Linked DNA regions of Homo sapiens: regions 1, 2, 4 and 5 are each linked to region 3. Evidence: promoter capture Hi-C in 16 types of primary human blood cells and fetal thymus (Javierre and others, 2016). All regions are on one chromosome and are shown on one strand. Each heading gives the region's core, a stretch centred on a gene start or on the middle of the fragment in contact. The rest is flanking DNA. Distances are from core to core; before and after follow the strand shown.

Region 1 (2,746 bases), core at 57-2,556, 220 kb before region 3:
AAGGTAAAGTCAAGGAAAATATCTGTAGAATATACACAAAGAGAAATTAGAAGAAAATCAAAACATGTCACTAAAAAAAAAAAAAATCAATGAAACACAAAAGAAGGCAGCAAGGGAAGAAAGATGGACAAAAAAGCTATAAGACATATAAAAAAATAATCAAAATGGCAATAGTGAGTCCATGTCAATAATTACTTTAAATATAAATTGGGCCAGGAGCGGTGGCTCACATCTGTAATTCCAGCACTTTGGGAGACCAAGGTGGGCAGATCACTTGAGGTCAGGAGTTAAGAGACCAGCATGGCCAATATGGTAAAACGCCATCTCTACTAAAAATACAAAAATTAGCCAGGCATGGTGGCAGCCACCTGTAATCCCAGCTACTCGGGAGGCTGAGGCAGAAGAATCACTTGAACCTGAGGCAGAGGTTGCAGTGAGCCAAGATTGTGCCACTGTACTTCAGCCTGGACAACAGAGGGAGATTGTGTCTCAAAAAAAAAAAAAAAGATTAAGTGCCCAAATAAAAGACATAGATTGGCCAATGGAATAAAAAAATAAGATCCAACTACAGGTTGTTTACAAGACATCTGCTTCAGATCCAAAGATGCACAAAGGCTACAAATAAAAGGATGGAAAAAGATATTCCAGAAAACTGGAATCTGAAGAGAGTGGCCGTACTTACATCAGACAACATAGAGTTTAAGATAAAAACTGTCACAAGAGACAGAGTAGGACATTATATGATAAAAGGGTCAATTCACCAGTAAGATATGCATCTAACATTACAGTTCCCAAATTTATGAGCAAACACTGACAGAAGTGAAGGGAGAGAGAGACCAACACAATAATAGTAGGAGACTTCACTAGCCCACTTTCAGTTATGGATAGAACAACCACACAGAAGATCAATAAAGACACAAAGAACTTGAACAACACTATAGACCAATTGGACCTAACAGACATACTCAGAACACTCCAATCAACAACAGGAGAATACACATTCTTTTCAATTGCACTTGGAACATTCTCCAACAAAGACCACATGTTACGTGACAAAACAAGTCTTAACAAACTTAAGAAGACTATAATCATATAAGGTATATTTTCCATCAAAAATGGAATTAAACTAGAAATCAATAGTAGAAGGAAAACAGTAAAATCCACAAATAAGTGGAAGTTAAACAACTCACTCTCATATAACCAATGGGTGAGAGATGAAATCACAAGCGAATTTAGAAAATATCAGGAGACAAATGAAAACCAAAACACAATAGAGCAATATTTATGTAATGCAGCTAAAACAGTATTACACCTAACATTAACAATCAGTAAAGATCTCGAATTAACAACCTAACTTTAGACCCTTTCAAAGAACTAGGAAAAGAGAAACTAAACCAAATTAATGAAGGGAAATAAAGATTAAAACAAAGATAAATAAAATAGAGAATAGAAAAACAATGAGGAAAAAAAATCAATGAAACCAAGAGTTTGTTTTTTGAAAAAATTAACAAAACTGACAAATCGTTAGCTAGATTACATAAGAAAAAAAAGAGATAATCAAATAACTAAAATTAGAAACGAAAGGGGACATTATAATTGATGTCACAGAAATAAAGATTATAAAAGACTTACATGACCACACATATGGCAACAGATTAGATAACCTAGAAGAAATGAATACATTCCAAACATATAATCTACCAAGACTGAATCATGAATAAAAAATCTCAACAGCCCTATAACAAATAAGAAGATGAAACAGTAATCAAAAACTTCCCAACAAAGAAAAGCCCAGTACCAGATGGCTTCACTTGAAAATTCTACCAAATAATCAAAGAAGAATTAACTCTTCAAACTCTTACCAAAAAATGAGGGGCAGGGAACACTTCCAGAATCATTCTATGAAGCCAGCATTTCTCTGATACAAAAACTAGAAGACAGAACAAGAGGACTACAGAACAATACCCGTGATAAAGACTGATGCAAAAAATCCCCCCAAAAATACTGGCAAACTCAATTCAATAGCACTTTTTTTTTTTAAGAGAGGGTCTCATTTTGTTGCCCACACTGGAGTGCAGTGGCATGACAATGGCTCACTGCAGCCTCAACCTCCCAGGCTCAAGTGATCCTCCCACCTCAGCACACCCACCCTCCTCCTTAATACCCCACAACCCCTGCCCCAAGTAGCTAGTACTACAACTGTGTGCCTCCACACCTGGCTAATTTTAAAATTTCTTCTAGAGACAAGGTTTTACCATATTGTCCAGGATGGTCTTAAACTCCTGGCCGCAAGCGATTCTCCTGCATTGGCCTCCCAAAGTGCTGGGATTACAGGCAGGAGCCACCATGCCTGACCCAACAGCACATTAAAAGGATTACACACAATAAGCAAATGGGATTTATACTTGAAATGCAAGGATGTTTCCAAATATGAAAACAAATCATTGTACTACACTATATTAACAAAATGAAGGGCAAAAAACACATTATCATCTCAATTGATGTGCAAAAAGCATTTGACAAAATTCAACACACTTTCCTGATAAAAACACATAACAAACTAGAAATAGAAAGAAAACACCTCAATATAATAAAAGCAATACACACAAAGCCAACAGCTAACAGCACATATACTGGTGAAAGACTAAAAACTTTTCCTCTAAGATCAGGAGGAACAAGGCAAGGATGCCCAATATTATCAATATTCAAGATAGTATTAGAAGTCCTAGTCAGAGCAATTAAGACA
Region 2 (2,776 bases), core at 266-2,765, 190 kb before region 3:
GTAATCCCAGCATTTTGGGAGGCCGATACGGGTGGATCACGAGCTTAGGAGATCGAGACCATCCTGGCTAACACAGTGAAACCCCGTCTCTACTAAAAATACGAAAAAATAGCTGGGCGTGGTGGCGGGCGCCTGTAGTCCCAGCCACTGGGGAGGCTGAGGCAGGAGAATGGCGTGAACCCAGGAGGCGGAGCTTGCAGTGAGCCAAGATTGCGCCACTGCACTCCGGCCTGGGCGACAGAGCGAGACTCCGTCTCAAAAAGAAAAAAAAAAAAGATCAATACTTCCCAATTTGGAAACTTACTAGAAAGCCACAGTAATGAAGACAGTAAGGAACTGGCATAAGAATAGACATATAAGTCAATGGAATAGAATTGAGAGTCCAGAAATAAACCCATATATCTACAGTCAAATGATTTTCAACCAGGGTGCCAAGATCATTCAATAGGGAAAGAATAGTCTTTTCAACAAATGGTGCTGAAACAACTGGATAGCCACATGCAAAAGACTAAAGTTGGACCCTTACTTCACATTATATACAAAAATTAATCCCAAATGGATCAAAGGCCTTAATGGGAGAGTCAAAACTATAAAACTCTCAGATAAAAATATAGGGATAAATATTTATGAACTTGGATTTCGCAATAAATTCTTAAACACCAAACCCATGAGCCTCAGTAAAAATAAATAAATTGGACTTTATCAAAATTAAGCTTTTGTGCTGCAAAGGATACCATTAAGAGAGTGAAAAGACAACCCATGGAATGGGAGAAAATATTTGCAAATCATATCTAATGGACTTGTTTTCAGTGAAAAACTCTTACAATCCCCAATAATAAAACAAGTAACTCAATTAAAAAATCTGAATTGACATTTCTCCAAAGAAGATATACAAATAGCCAATAAATGCATGAAAAGATGCTCTATATCAATAGTCATCAGGGAAACACAAATGAAAATCACAATGAGCTTCCACTTCACACCTGTAAAATGGCTATAACCAAAGACATGGAGGCTAGTAAATGTTGGCCAGAAAGTGGAGTGAAGAACACTCATACACTGCTGGTAGGCATGTAAAATGGTGGAAAAGTTTGACAGTTCCTCAGAAATTTCAATGCAGAACCATCATTTGACTCAGCAATTTCACTTCTAGCTGTATACCCAAGAGAAGTGAAAACATATGCTCACAAAAAAAGCTTGTACGTGGATGTTCATAGCAGTATTATTCACAGTATCCAAAAGGTGGAAACAATCCAAATACCCATCAATGGATGAATGAATAAACAAAATGTGGTATATCTACGTAATGGGATATTATTTGGCCATCAAATGAATGAAATACTATTACAAGCTACAATATGGACAAATTTTGAAAACATGCTAAAATGAAAGAAGCCAGCCATGAAAGATCACATATTATATGATTTCATTTATATGAAATATCCAGAAGAGGCAAATATAGACAGACAGTATATTAGTGATTTATTAAGCCTGGGGGAGGACAGGATTGGAGGATTGGGAGTGACAGCTTAAGGGCACAGGGTTTCTTTTCAAGGTGATGAAAATGTTCTAAAATTGACTGTGGTGAGGGTTGCACAACTCTTTGAATATACTTTGTGTAACCTTGAAATGGGTGAATTTTATGGTATATTAATTATATCTCAGTGAAGCCATTTCCCCCAAAAATCTGTAGCACAGGCCTCAAAATGTGCTCAGTGGAATGGTTGCTTCCATGGACCATGGGTTATTGGTCCACAAAGCGCTAAGGAGCTTGCACCACTATAAAAATGTAACAAGACTTTCTTGAAAAGAAAGTGTGCTGCTTATCCAAGCACAAGCTTATCTCATTCATAGTCTCCTGTGAGTAGCACTGATCTATCGCACTACACACACCAAATAGAATGGTTTTTAGCGTCTCTGGTGACTATGGCTACAGAGACTAAAGTGAGGAGGGAAAGCAATCTTGTAACAGTGGCTACTCCCAAATTTCCATGTTAGCAGGTAGAGCATGAGACCATGACTGAGAGAAGAGAGTTGTTAGCGAAGTGCCAAAGTTGGAAGCAGGGGTAGGGTATGGAAGATGAAGAATAGAAACAGAAATATAAAGCCAATCCAGAGCTGGAAGTTGAACAAGAGAACCACAGCTAAGAAAATAGCAGTAACAATGTATTCAAATTTAGCTTCTTTAAGAAGCATCTGGAGAAAAAAATGTGGGTGACAAGCTGCCACCCTCACTGCCCTGGTTGGGATATAGAAGGACTTGAGAGGAGGGTCAAGAATCTATACAACAAGCAGTACAGACAATTTCAATGCAAGTAGTCCTTGAACCCCACATTAAAACAGTGAACTAGAGGAAGAAGCAGAAAATAAATGCACACAGCAGGGATGGAATCATTTTATAGAAGAGATTTTATGGGATTTTATGGAGCTGAATCCCTGGTAGTCACAGGAGGACTCTTAAAATTGAAGCTGAGTTCATTTTTGAAAAAAGAAAAAAATCTATGCTTAGCTATTTTGCAATATAAGATTTTGACTTACTCTTACTGTAATTACAAATCAGGACTTTAAGCAATGTCCTGTATTTTTTTTAAAGCAACAACATGAAGTCACACAATGTCCTATTTTTAGTAAAAAAAAAAAAAAGAAAAAGACGTTAGGATGTAAAAAACAAAATAAAAGCTATAGTTTAAATTTCTAGCTCTTCTTAGAGTTGTAGAGGTATATTTCATCAACAATGTATAACAATTAAAGTAATTTCAATTAGGCTAAATATCAG
Region 3 (2,700 bases), core at 50-2,549:
TTGCTGGTTTCACTTCAGATGGGTGCAGGTTTGAGTTAACGAAGGTAAAAGCTAGGTCATTTGAGAACAATATGACTTTTCTGAAAGCTAAATCATAGAGAAACTGCCAGATATAAAAACAGATAAACTATACATTTAAAAACTCATTTTAATAAAAACATATTATGATAAAAAGATAATTCCAGTCTGTTTGATTCTAGAGTCTATTCTCTTAATTATATTGTTAAGCAACAAAATGGGGAAGGAAGCAAACTTAAGTTGAACTTTCTGAGCCTGAGTTTCATTTTCTATGAAATAAGGATAGTAATATCTCATTGAATTGCTGTGGGGACTAAATTAGATAATGTATGTAAAATGCAAAAGACAATCTATAAATGTTTACTTCTCTCCTGCCGTCCATCTAGCTCAAACTTGCACTAGAGGTGATTAGGTATTTAGAGTTCAAATAACTGAGTTGTGATGTCAGCAAAATCAAAATTAAGCAGACTGAATTTCCAGATGTGTCCAAATGTCAATGAAACCAATATTTAAGCAGAGATCTACTGGACTGCGCTGTAACTCCATAAGCCTTGAATAATTGAGGATTGACTGTAAACTGAGGATCTGTGTTCTGCATTATGACCTTGCATTAACAGAGACTAAACAATTGAAGGTTTGGAGGTAAGTGAAATAGCCTGGTGCCTGTAATATTTCAGGAGGAAATGCAACAATATAACAAGCAACACAAGTACTGATATTAATTGAGAAAGGTCTCATTTATCTCTCTGGAAAATTTCTCCCTTCAAATGCCACTTATCACGAGAGTGTGGATTCTCTGATGTATTTTAGTGATCACTCAGTTATCTTCAGTACTTGCTCTCCACCCTGGTCTTATAATACAGACTTTTCTGCGTTTTCAGTTGTTCCAGGCTCTAGTCACATCTCAGTTATGTGCAATAATAGTCATTGTGGAGTTGCTGCAAATCAAAATTTCCCAGGTAATACCAAGTCTCATTTAACTTCCAGAGCCATCCATCACCAAACATTTTATTGGAGAACCAAAAAGGGTGGAGTAGGGGAGCTGAGTGAATTTCTGAGTCTGCTGGAGTTGATAACTGTAAGTGTCATGGCCCCAGTATTACTAGCCATAGATAGAGATAATTTAAAAAATCATCCCTGTAACCCTAGGTACTGATTATCTATTGCTACATAGCAAGCCGCCTTGAAACACATGGCTTAAAATAACAATTTATTTTTATATCTCACAGTTCTGTGGCTTAACTGGTCTCAGCTTGGCATCTCTCTTGTAGTTGAAGTCAAATAGAGGCTAGGGCTACATTCGTCTAAAGGTTCAGTTGAGTTGGAATGTGGCATGGCTGGCAGTTGATGATGACTGTTTCCTAGGAGTTCTGCTGGAGCTACATGCCTGAACACCAACCAATAACCTTTTCATGTGGCTGAGACCTTTCATATGGCCACAGTCCTCAGAGACAGCATCCCAAGAGTGATCCTTTTAAGAGGCTCAGGTAGAAATTGCAAGGTGTTTTTACAGTCTTTTCAGAGGTTGGAGTGTCACTTCTGTCATATTCTGCTGGTTCAACAAGCCAGTAAAGCCAAGCCCAGAGTAAGGTAATAAGACTCCACTTCTTGATGAGGAAATGTCAAAGTCATATTGCGGAACAGCGTATTAGATAGGAGATACTATGGTGATCATCTTTGGAAGGTGCAATCTGCCACATCCAGTTCTTCTGTTCCAGATGCCAACAGAGCTCACCTGTATCCAGAACACTCCTGGGCTCTGGCTGGTTTAAATACTTTCTGCATTTACTGGTCAACTCAGAATAATTTATAATTAGTAAGATGTATAGAAGAAATCAGAAAGTATCAATTTTCATAACATATCATGATTCTTTCACAAATCAGACATTCTTGCATTCTTATTCTTGTTGCCAGTGTTTTGCTCCATATGACATTCACAATTCTGTATTCATGTGTACTTTGGCCACTGAAATCCTGTTGTCCTCTTTACCTCTGCGTTGACCTTTTTGTGTTTCAGATGCTTGACTTGCTCTTGATCCCTGGTACCCAAGACTTTCATCACCTCTGCTTTCAAAGTTTGGCCTCCAGGCCTTTGAACTACCTCTAATAACTGTTTTTTTTTTTTTTTTTTTTTTTGAGAGGAGTCTCGCTCTGTCTCCCAGGCTGGAGTGCAGTGGTGCAATCTTGGCTCACTGCAAACTCTGCTCCCGGGTTCACGTCATTCTCCCACCTCAGCCTCCTGAGTAGCTGGGACTACGGGTGCCCGCCACCACGCCTGGCTAATTTTTTGTATTTTTAGTAGAGACGGAGTTTCACCATTCACAGGATGGTCTCGATCTCCTGACCTCATGATGTGCCCGCCTCGGCCTCCCAAAGTGCTGGGATTACAGGCATGAGCCACCGCGCCCGGCAATAACTGTTAGCTTAGCTTCCGTAGCTGCTGCCTTTACCACTTGACGTACAGATAATTGATGCGAATGCAGAGGAAACCTGAATGTTTGGCTTTCCTATCTTGACCCCACTTCTACCCAGTCCTTTTTAGGTTTTAATTTTATTAACTTGCTCCCATTGGTGTCTCCTTCCCATCAGGATGGAGGTATATTTATGCCTAAAATCTGAATTTTTCCCCTTCACGGTGAAAAACAAAGATTCCCTGCCACATGCCTTTCGTATAAGAGCCCT
Region 4 (2,700 bases), core at 49-2,548, 240 kb before region 3:
GCAATTTTAAGGTATTTTAGGGCAAAACAATAATGGTGATAAGCATCATGATACATGCTAATCAGCTTTTACTCAACTACTGTAAAATTAAAGCTAAAATATAAATACATGAAAAAGGATAACTTTTACATATGAGAAACATTCTATTATAATAAACTCCATGAGGAATATGCATTGCTCTTGTTACAAATTAATTTTATTAAAATTAACACAGTGAAAACAGATCCACACATGAACCTACTAGCCGGCAAATTCCAGACGTTGACATTTCTGATATCCTTCAATACAAAACGTGAGTCTTTAATTCACTATGACAAAAAGTATTAACCTAAAAGGAACATTAGGATAACCTTGGTAACTTATGAATAGACTTTTATTCTTTAAATAGCTTGGTAATAAAGATTTCAACATTACATATTGTTTGTACTCTGCAGTGAATCAATCTGTGGCAAGATGTTAACCCAGACAGAAAAAGGAAAAGAAAGTTAAGCATCTCCAACTCTAAGTCCTAAAAGTTTTTTTATCATCCTCGGTGATTTGATGTTAGGTGTATAAAACAGTTTTCTGGAATGTTTAAGACATAAACAAAAGAGGTGAACTGTGTTGTCAAATTTAAACTTAGTGCACCTAAAATGAAAAAGTATAAAATTTAAAATCAAATCACTTCATCAAGGAAACAATTGTTATGAGGACAGAAATTTGGGAAAGCATTAATATAGCATAATTTGTACTCAGAATTCATTAAGATTAGATCCAAAAGTACTATTTCTACAGGCCTTAAGTTAGAACCTAAAAAACAACTTTTGTTTTTGTTTCTGATAATCTACTTTTTGGAATTTGAGAAATACATTAGTTCTAGGGCAGTTATAGAGCATTTCCCCACCAAAATTCCAAAGAGGAGAGGCTGTGATTGATTCATCTCCATTATTTATTTGTGCTCTCACCTTATTTTAGAGAAGTTAAGGTAGCCTAAAAAAATTATGTGCAAAGCAAAGCAATTTAAGAACATGTAGAAAATAGTACATTTTGTTATACATGTTACCACAATTTTTAAACATGTATAAAGATAAGAATCAGTAGATCAAGTTGAAATGAGAGTAGAAAAGATGAAAGAGTTGCATAAGGATCTGGACATCTGTTAGGGGAAATCTGACCTTTACAATGGTCAATACAAAGCTAAAAATGCAATTAGTTACATAATTCCCTACTTTAGTTCTTGGCAAAACAATTGTTTTAGGAAACATTAAAGTCTACCCTTTAAAGTTATCAAATTAAGCATATTAGTTTGTAGTGCAAGCATGCTTATACCCACAGTTAATACGATGAAAGAAACTAATCACAAATAAAGTAAATCAAGAAAACTACCTAATCAACTCTTAATAACAACAATAAAAAAAATACAAGTTTTACTCACTGCTTTAAAAAATTTTTCTGACAGCTGGCATTTAGACCCAAAACTTTTGGGCTGCAGAGTCATGTTTTCCTTAGTCTGAGAATCAAAAGTTGGATTTTCAATAAGGCAATTAATAAAAACCCATATATGGTTTTTTACCTGTTGAAAACATACCCAAAAAAGTCAATATCAGAGCTGATATTTAGTAATTCAGTATATATATAATGCATATGTATGCATCATGTACAATATATAACACATCCCTTACTTGAAATGGTTTCACTGATACACCAGCTTTGTTCTTTTTCTTAACTACTTCAATCAGTTTACCAACAACTTGATCTACCACATAATCCACGTGCCGTCCACCCTAAAGAAAAAAAAATATATGAAATCTGAAATCCTGTATTGTTAAAGTAGCAAAATACTTTATCTGTATTATAAACCCTATTTTCTAAAAGAGTAATAGAGTCTCAGAACGAGAGTTGAGATTTTAAAAAAATAAGACATTTTGGCTACAGAGCCAATAAACCAACCGCTGTGTTTTTTTTGTTTGTTTGTTTGTTTGCTTTCCTCACTTCAATTCTAACACCAATTCTCAGGTGCTTTCAACACCAGCAACCAATTCTCTGATTCTCCAGACACCAAATGGATGTTCAACAATGTAATTCAATTTTGATACTAACTACCTGGAGTTAGCACAAGTATTTAGGGTTGGTTAAGGGCTCAATCCCACAGGACTCCCCACACTTCAGATGCCAGTTACAAGTCCTAGGCCTCCTGTACTTCTAACGAACCTATGACCCACTCCTCAGGAATGATAATTTGCTGGAACAGGTCACAGAACTCAAGAACACACTTTACTTCATTTACAAGTTTTTTATATAGGATCCAGCAATAATAGCCAAATGGAAGAGATGCATAGGGCATAGTACAGGGGAAAGGGTACACAAAGCTCCATGCCTTACCCAGACATGCCACCCTCTTGGCACCTCAAATGTATTCACCAACCTAGGAGTTCTGTGAACTCCATTGTTCAGGAGTTTTTACAGAGCTTTATCACATAGCCATAATTGATTTTTAACTCAGTCACCAGCCCCCTCTCCTCTCCCCAGAGGTTGGGGAAGGTGGGGCTAAAAGTTACAGAAAAAGGAATTTGTTATTCTAAATTTCATAAAATATAAATATGTTCAACTACAAACACTAGTCATATAAATTTATTTCTCAATAATTGTTTAAATAAATTTTAATACAGCAATTTCATAGAAAATAGGTTTTTGTTTTCATAAGTCAATTCTTATTTAACA
Region 5 (2,700 bases), core at 138-2,637, 160 kb before region 3:
GCGGGGATCTCTGGTGGTTGGCTACCACAGCTGCGATATTCAGTTTCGGTAAGAATGGGAGGAAATCGGTGTTCTCAACCACTACTGCTGGGTGTGTAAATTATCTTTAGAGGGCAATTTGACAGTAGCTAGTCAGATTTAAAATGCACATACCTTTGCATGTATTTTATGTAAGAGAAATGTGTAGAAGGATGCTGATTGTAGCAGGGCTTTTAATAACCAAAAAAAGGGAAAAATCTAAATATCTGTAAATAATAGAATGGATAAATTACGGAATTCTGTGAAGCAGTTAAAAATAAGTGTAGCAGAACCATGACTGACCAAGGAATGATTTCAGTTAAAAAACAAGCGGGAAAAGGATATACTTTCATTTACATAAAAAAGCAAACACATGAAAACTGTGTGTGTGTATATGTTTCTGTGTATACATATATAGACATGAAAATCCACAGGAAACCTTTAGAAGGACACATGTAAAATTTTTGGCAGTTAACTTGGAAAATAATGTAGAGCATGGGAAGTGGAGGCAGCACTTTTACTTTATAATATTTTGTTATATCGTTTTAAAACAATTTCGTTATGCCCAGAGCAAGTCTTCAGAAAACTAAGAGAGAAGAGAGCAAGGTCGCAACTTCTAAGTCTGTTTTCACTGTGGCTTAAGAAATAGGAAAGGGGTGTTGGACACACAGCCATTAAAATACTGGCTCCCACTTAATTCTTCAGTTTCATCATCTATAAAATGGGGATAAGATACAGTATCTACTGTACAATGCCATCATGATCAAATGAGACAATGAAAGTCACTGGCACTTAGGAAAAACTCAAAAAGTGGTGACTATTGGTTTAGGTCTATTCTAAATCTCTTATTAGAAATAAAACTGTTTTGGTCAATATGCAGAGTGTAACTGAATACATGCTAAGAGAAATAAAACCAATCATGACCTGTATTGGTTTCCTCTTCTTCTCCCAAAAGTATTTAAGGAAGGTGTGCTACCTGGATCCGTTATTAGTTTATGAAGAGTGTATCTGCTGGTACTATAAAATCAAAACACAACTTATTGTTGTAGACGAAAAAAAGTCTTTAGAAAAGCTTAACTATGGTTAGAAAAATCAATTTCAATTATAACACCTCAACTTGAACATTTCTATTAAAGTTTCTATATTTCAATATTAATAACTTCTAACTTCAATTGTAACACCTTCTCAACTTGAACATTTCTATTAAAGTATCTATATTCACATAACACCTATTAAAACAGCAACCCACTTACAGGTCTCTGATTCTATAAACTTGCAACTTGATAGATGTAGAAATGAATCTTGCCTACACCACTGATTCATTGAATTGTCAGGACAGGTCATTTCCCTTCTCTGGGCTTGAGTTTTCCTCATTGGAAAAGTAAGAAATCTGGGTTAAATTATCTCTAACAACCCTTTCTATCTCAGAAGTGTTCTATGACAAAGTGTTCTCTGGCCCTCCTTTAATCAGAAGCACTATTTTCCTTGTGAATTGATCAAAGCATCAGATGTACTTCTCGTTCACCATGAGAATGTGGTTTCCAGCAAAGGACTTTCTTAAAAATAAAACACTGCAGCAACAAGCAGTGTCTGTGGAATTCATCATGATGGGATCTGACCTGAAACCAGGGTATAGATTCTTTTTAAATAATGTGCAATGGCAGTGGAAAGCTTATTAATCAGAAGATCCTAAATAAAATGTACCTTAATATTGGTCGCTCACTGAGGGGTCTGTACTATCGGCCATTCTTTGCCTAAGTTACTTTTGCCTTACCAGTTTACTGTCACTTAACTTTTCACATCATCAAGAACTGTGTTGTCCCATACCTTCTGTACCATTTCCAAACTTTTCTGAATAATAAAATATCTACTAACATATATTGGGTAGGCTCAGGGTTGAAAATCTCATGAAATATATTTATGAAAAGTGTTTTTGGCTGGGCGCAGTGGCTCACGCCTGTAATCCCAGCACTTTGGGAGGCCGAGGCAGGCAGATCATGAGGTCAGGAGATCGAGACCATCCTGGCTAACACGGTGAAACCCCGTCTCTACTAAAAATACAAAAAATTAGCCAGGCGTGGTGGTGGGCGCCTGTAGTCCCAACTACTTGGGAGGCTGAGGCAGGAAAATGGAGTGAACCCGGGAGGCAGAGCTTGCAGTGAGCCAAGATTGTGCCACTGCACTCCAGCCTGGGTGACAGAATGAGACTCGGTCTCAAAAACAAACAAACAAACAAAACAAAACAAAACAAAAAAAGTAAAGTGTTTTAGGTCTTTAATCCATCTTGAGTTAATTTTTGTATAAGGAAGGGGACCAGTTTCAGTTTTCTGCATATGGCTAGCCAGTTTTCCCAGGACCATTTATTAAATACGGAATTCTTTCCCCATTGCTTGTTTTTGTCAGGTTTGTCGCAATGGTTGTAGATGTGTATTTTTCTGAGGTCTCTGTTCTGTTCCATTGGTCTATATGTCTGTTTTAGTACCAATACCATGCTGTTTTGATTACTCTAGCCTTGTAGTATAGTTTGAAGTCAGGGAACATGATGCCTCCAGCTTTGTTCTCTTTGCTTAGGATTGTCATGGCTATACGGACTCTTTTGTGGTTCCATATGAAATTTAATTTTTTTCTAATTCTGTGAACAATGTTAATGGTAGTTTGATGGGACCAGCATTGAATCTATAA

What was found. Contacts are between HindIII fragments. The CHiCAGO score rates a contact against its expected background, and 5 or more counts as called.
Region 1: a contact is called between a fragment that was not itself captured here and the fragment with the promoter of LINC00692 in region 3, in 10 of 17 cell types (naive CD4 T cells, total CD4 T cells, naive CD8 T cells and 7 more). The highest score is 8.6, in naive CD4 T cells.
Region 2: a fragment that was not itself captured here is called in contact with the fragment with the promoter of LINC00692 in region 3 in 3 of 17 cell types (naive B cells, activated CD4 T cells and total CD4 T cells); the score reaches 7.0 in naive B cells.
Region 4: a contact is called between a fragment that was not itself captured here and the fragment with the promoter of LINC00692 in region 3, in 2 of 17 cell types (total CD4 T cells and activated CD4 T cells). The highest score is 5.8, in total CD4 T cells.
Region 5: a contact is called between a fragment that was not itself captured here and the fragment with the promoter of LINC00692 in region 3, in 1 of 17 cell types (activated CD4 T cells). The highest score is 5.2, in activated CD4 T cells.

What each region holds. Positions count from the first base shown.
Region 1 is chr3:25,651,374-25,654,119 of GRCh38, forward strand. All of the region lies in intron 1 of TOP2B (DNA topoisomerase II beta), which reads right to left. Among named protein-coding and RNA genes, the nearest start is that of TOP2B, 12 kb to the right of the region's middle. The HindIII fragment of the contact is 3,592 bases long and covers 1-2,746 here.
Region 2 is chr3:25,682,966-25,685,741 of GRCh38, forward strand. No RefSeq gene overlaps it. Among named protein-coding and RNA genes, the nearest start is that of MIR4442, 19 kb to the left of the region's middle. The HindIII fragment of the contact is 642 bases long and covers 1,195-1,836 here.
Region 3 is chr3:25,872,396-25,875,095 of GRCh38, forward strand. It overlaps LINC00692 (long intergenic non-protein coding RNA 692), which reads right to left and starts at 1,300. Exons shown (of 8, transcript NR_034055.1): 1 at 1,246-1,300; 2 at 1-87. It overlaps LOC124909357 (a long non-coding RNA gene), which reads left to right and starts at 1,383. Exons shown (of 2, transcript XR_007095849.1): 1 at 1,383-1,608. The HindIII fragment of the contact is 8,581 bases long and covers 1-2,700 here.
Region 4 is chr3:25,631,032-25,633,731 of GRCh38, forward strand. It overlaps TOP2B (DNA topoisomerase II beta), which reads right to left. Exons shown (of 36, transcript NM_001330700.2): 9 at 1,662-1,763; 10 at 1,415-1,552. Among named protein-coding and RNA genes, the nearest start is that of TOP2B, 33 kb to the right of the region's middle. The HindIII fragment of the contact is 4,013 bases long and covers 1-2,700 here.
Region 5 is chr3:25,713,740-25,716,439 of GRCh38, forward strand. No RefSeq gene overlaps it. Among named protein-coding and RNA genes, the nearest start is that of MIR4442, 50 kb to the left of the region's middle. The HindIII fragment of the contact is 599 bases long and covers 1,089-1,687 here.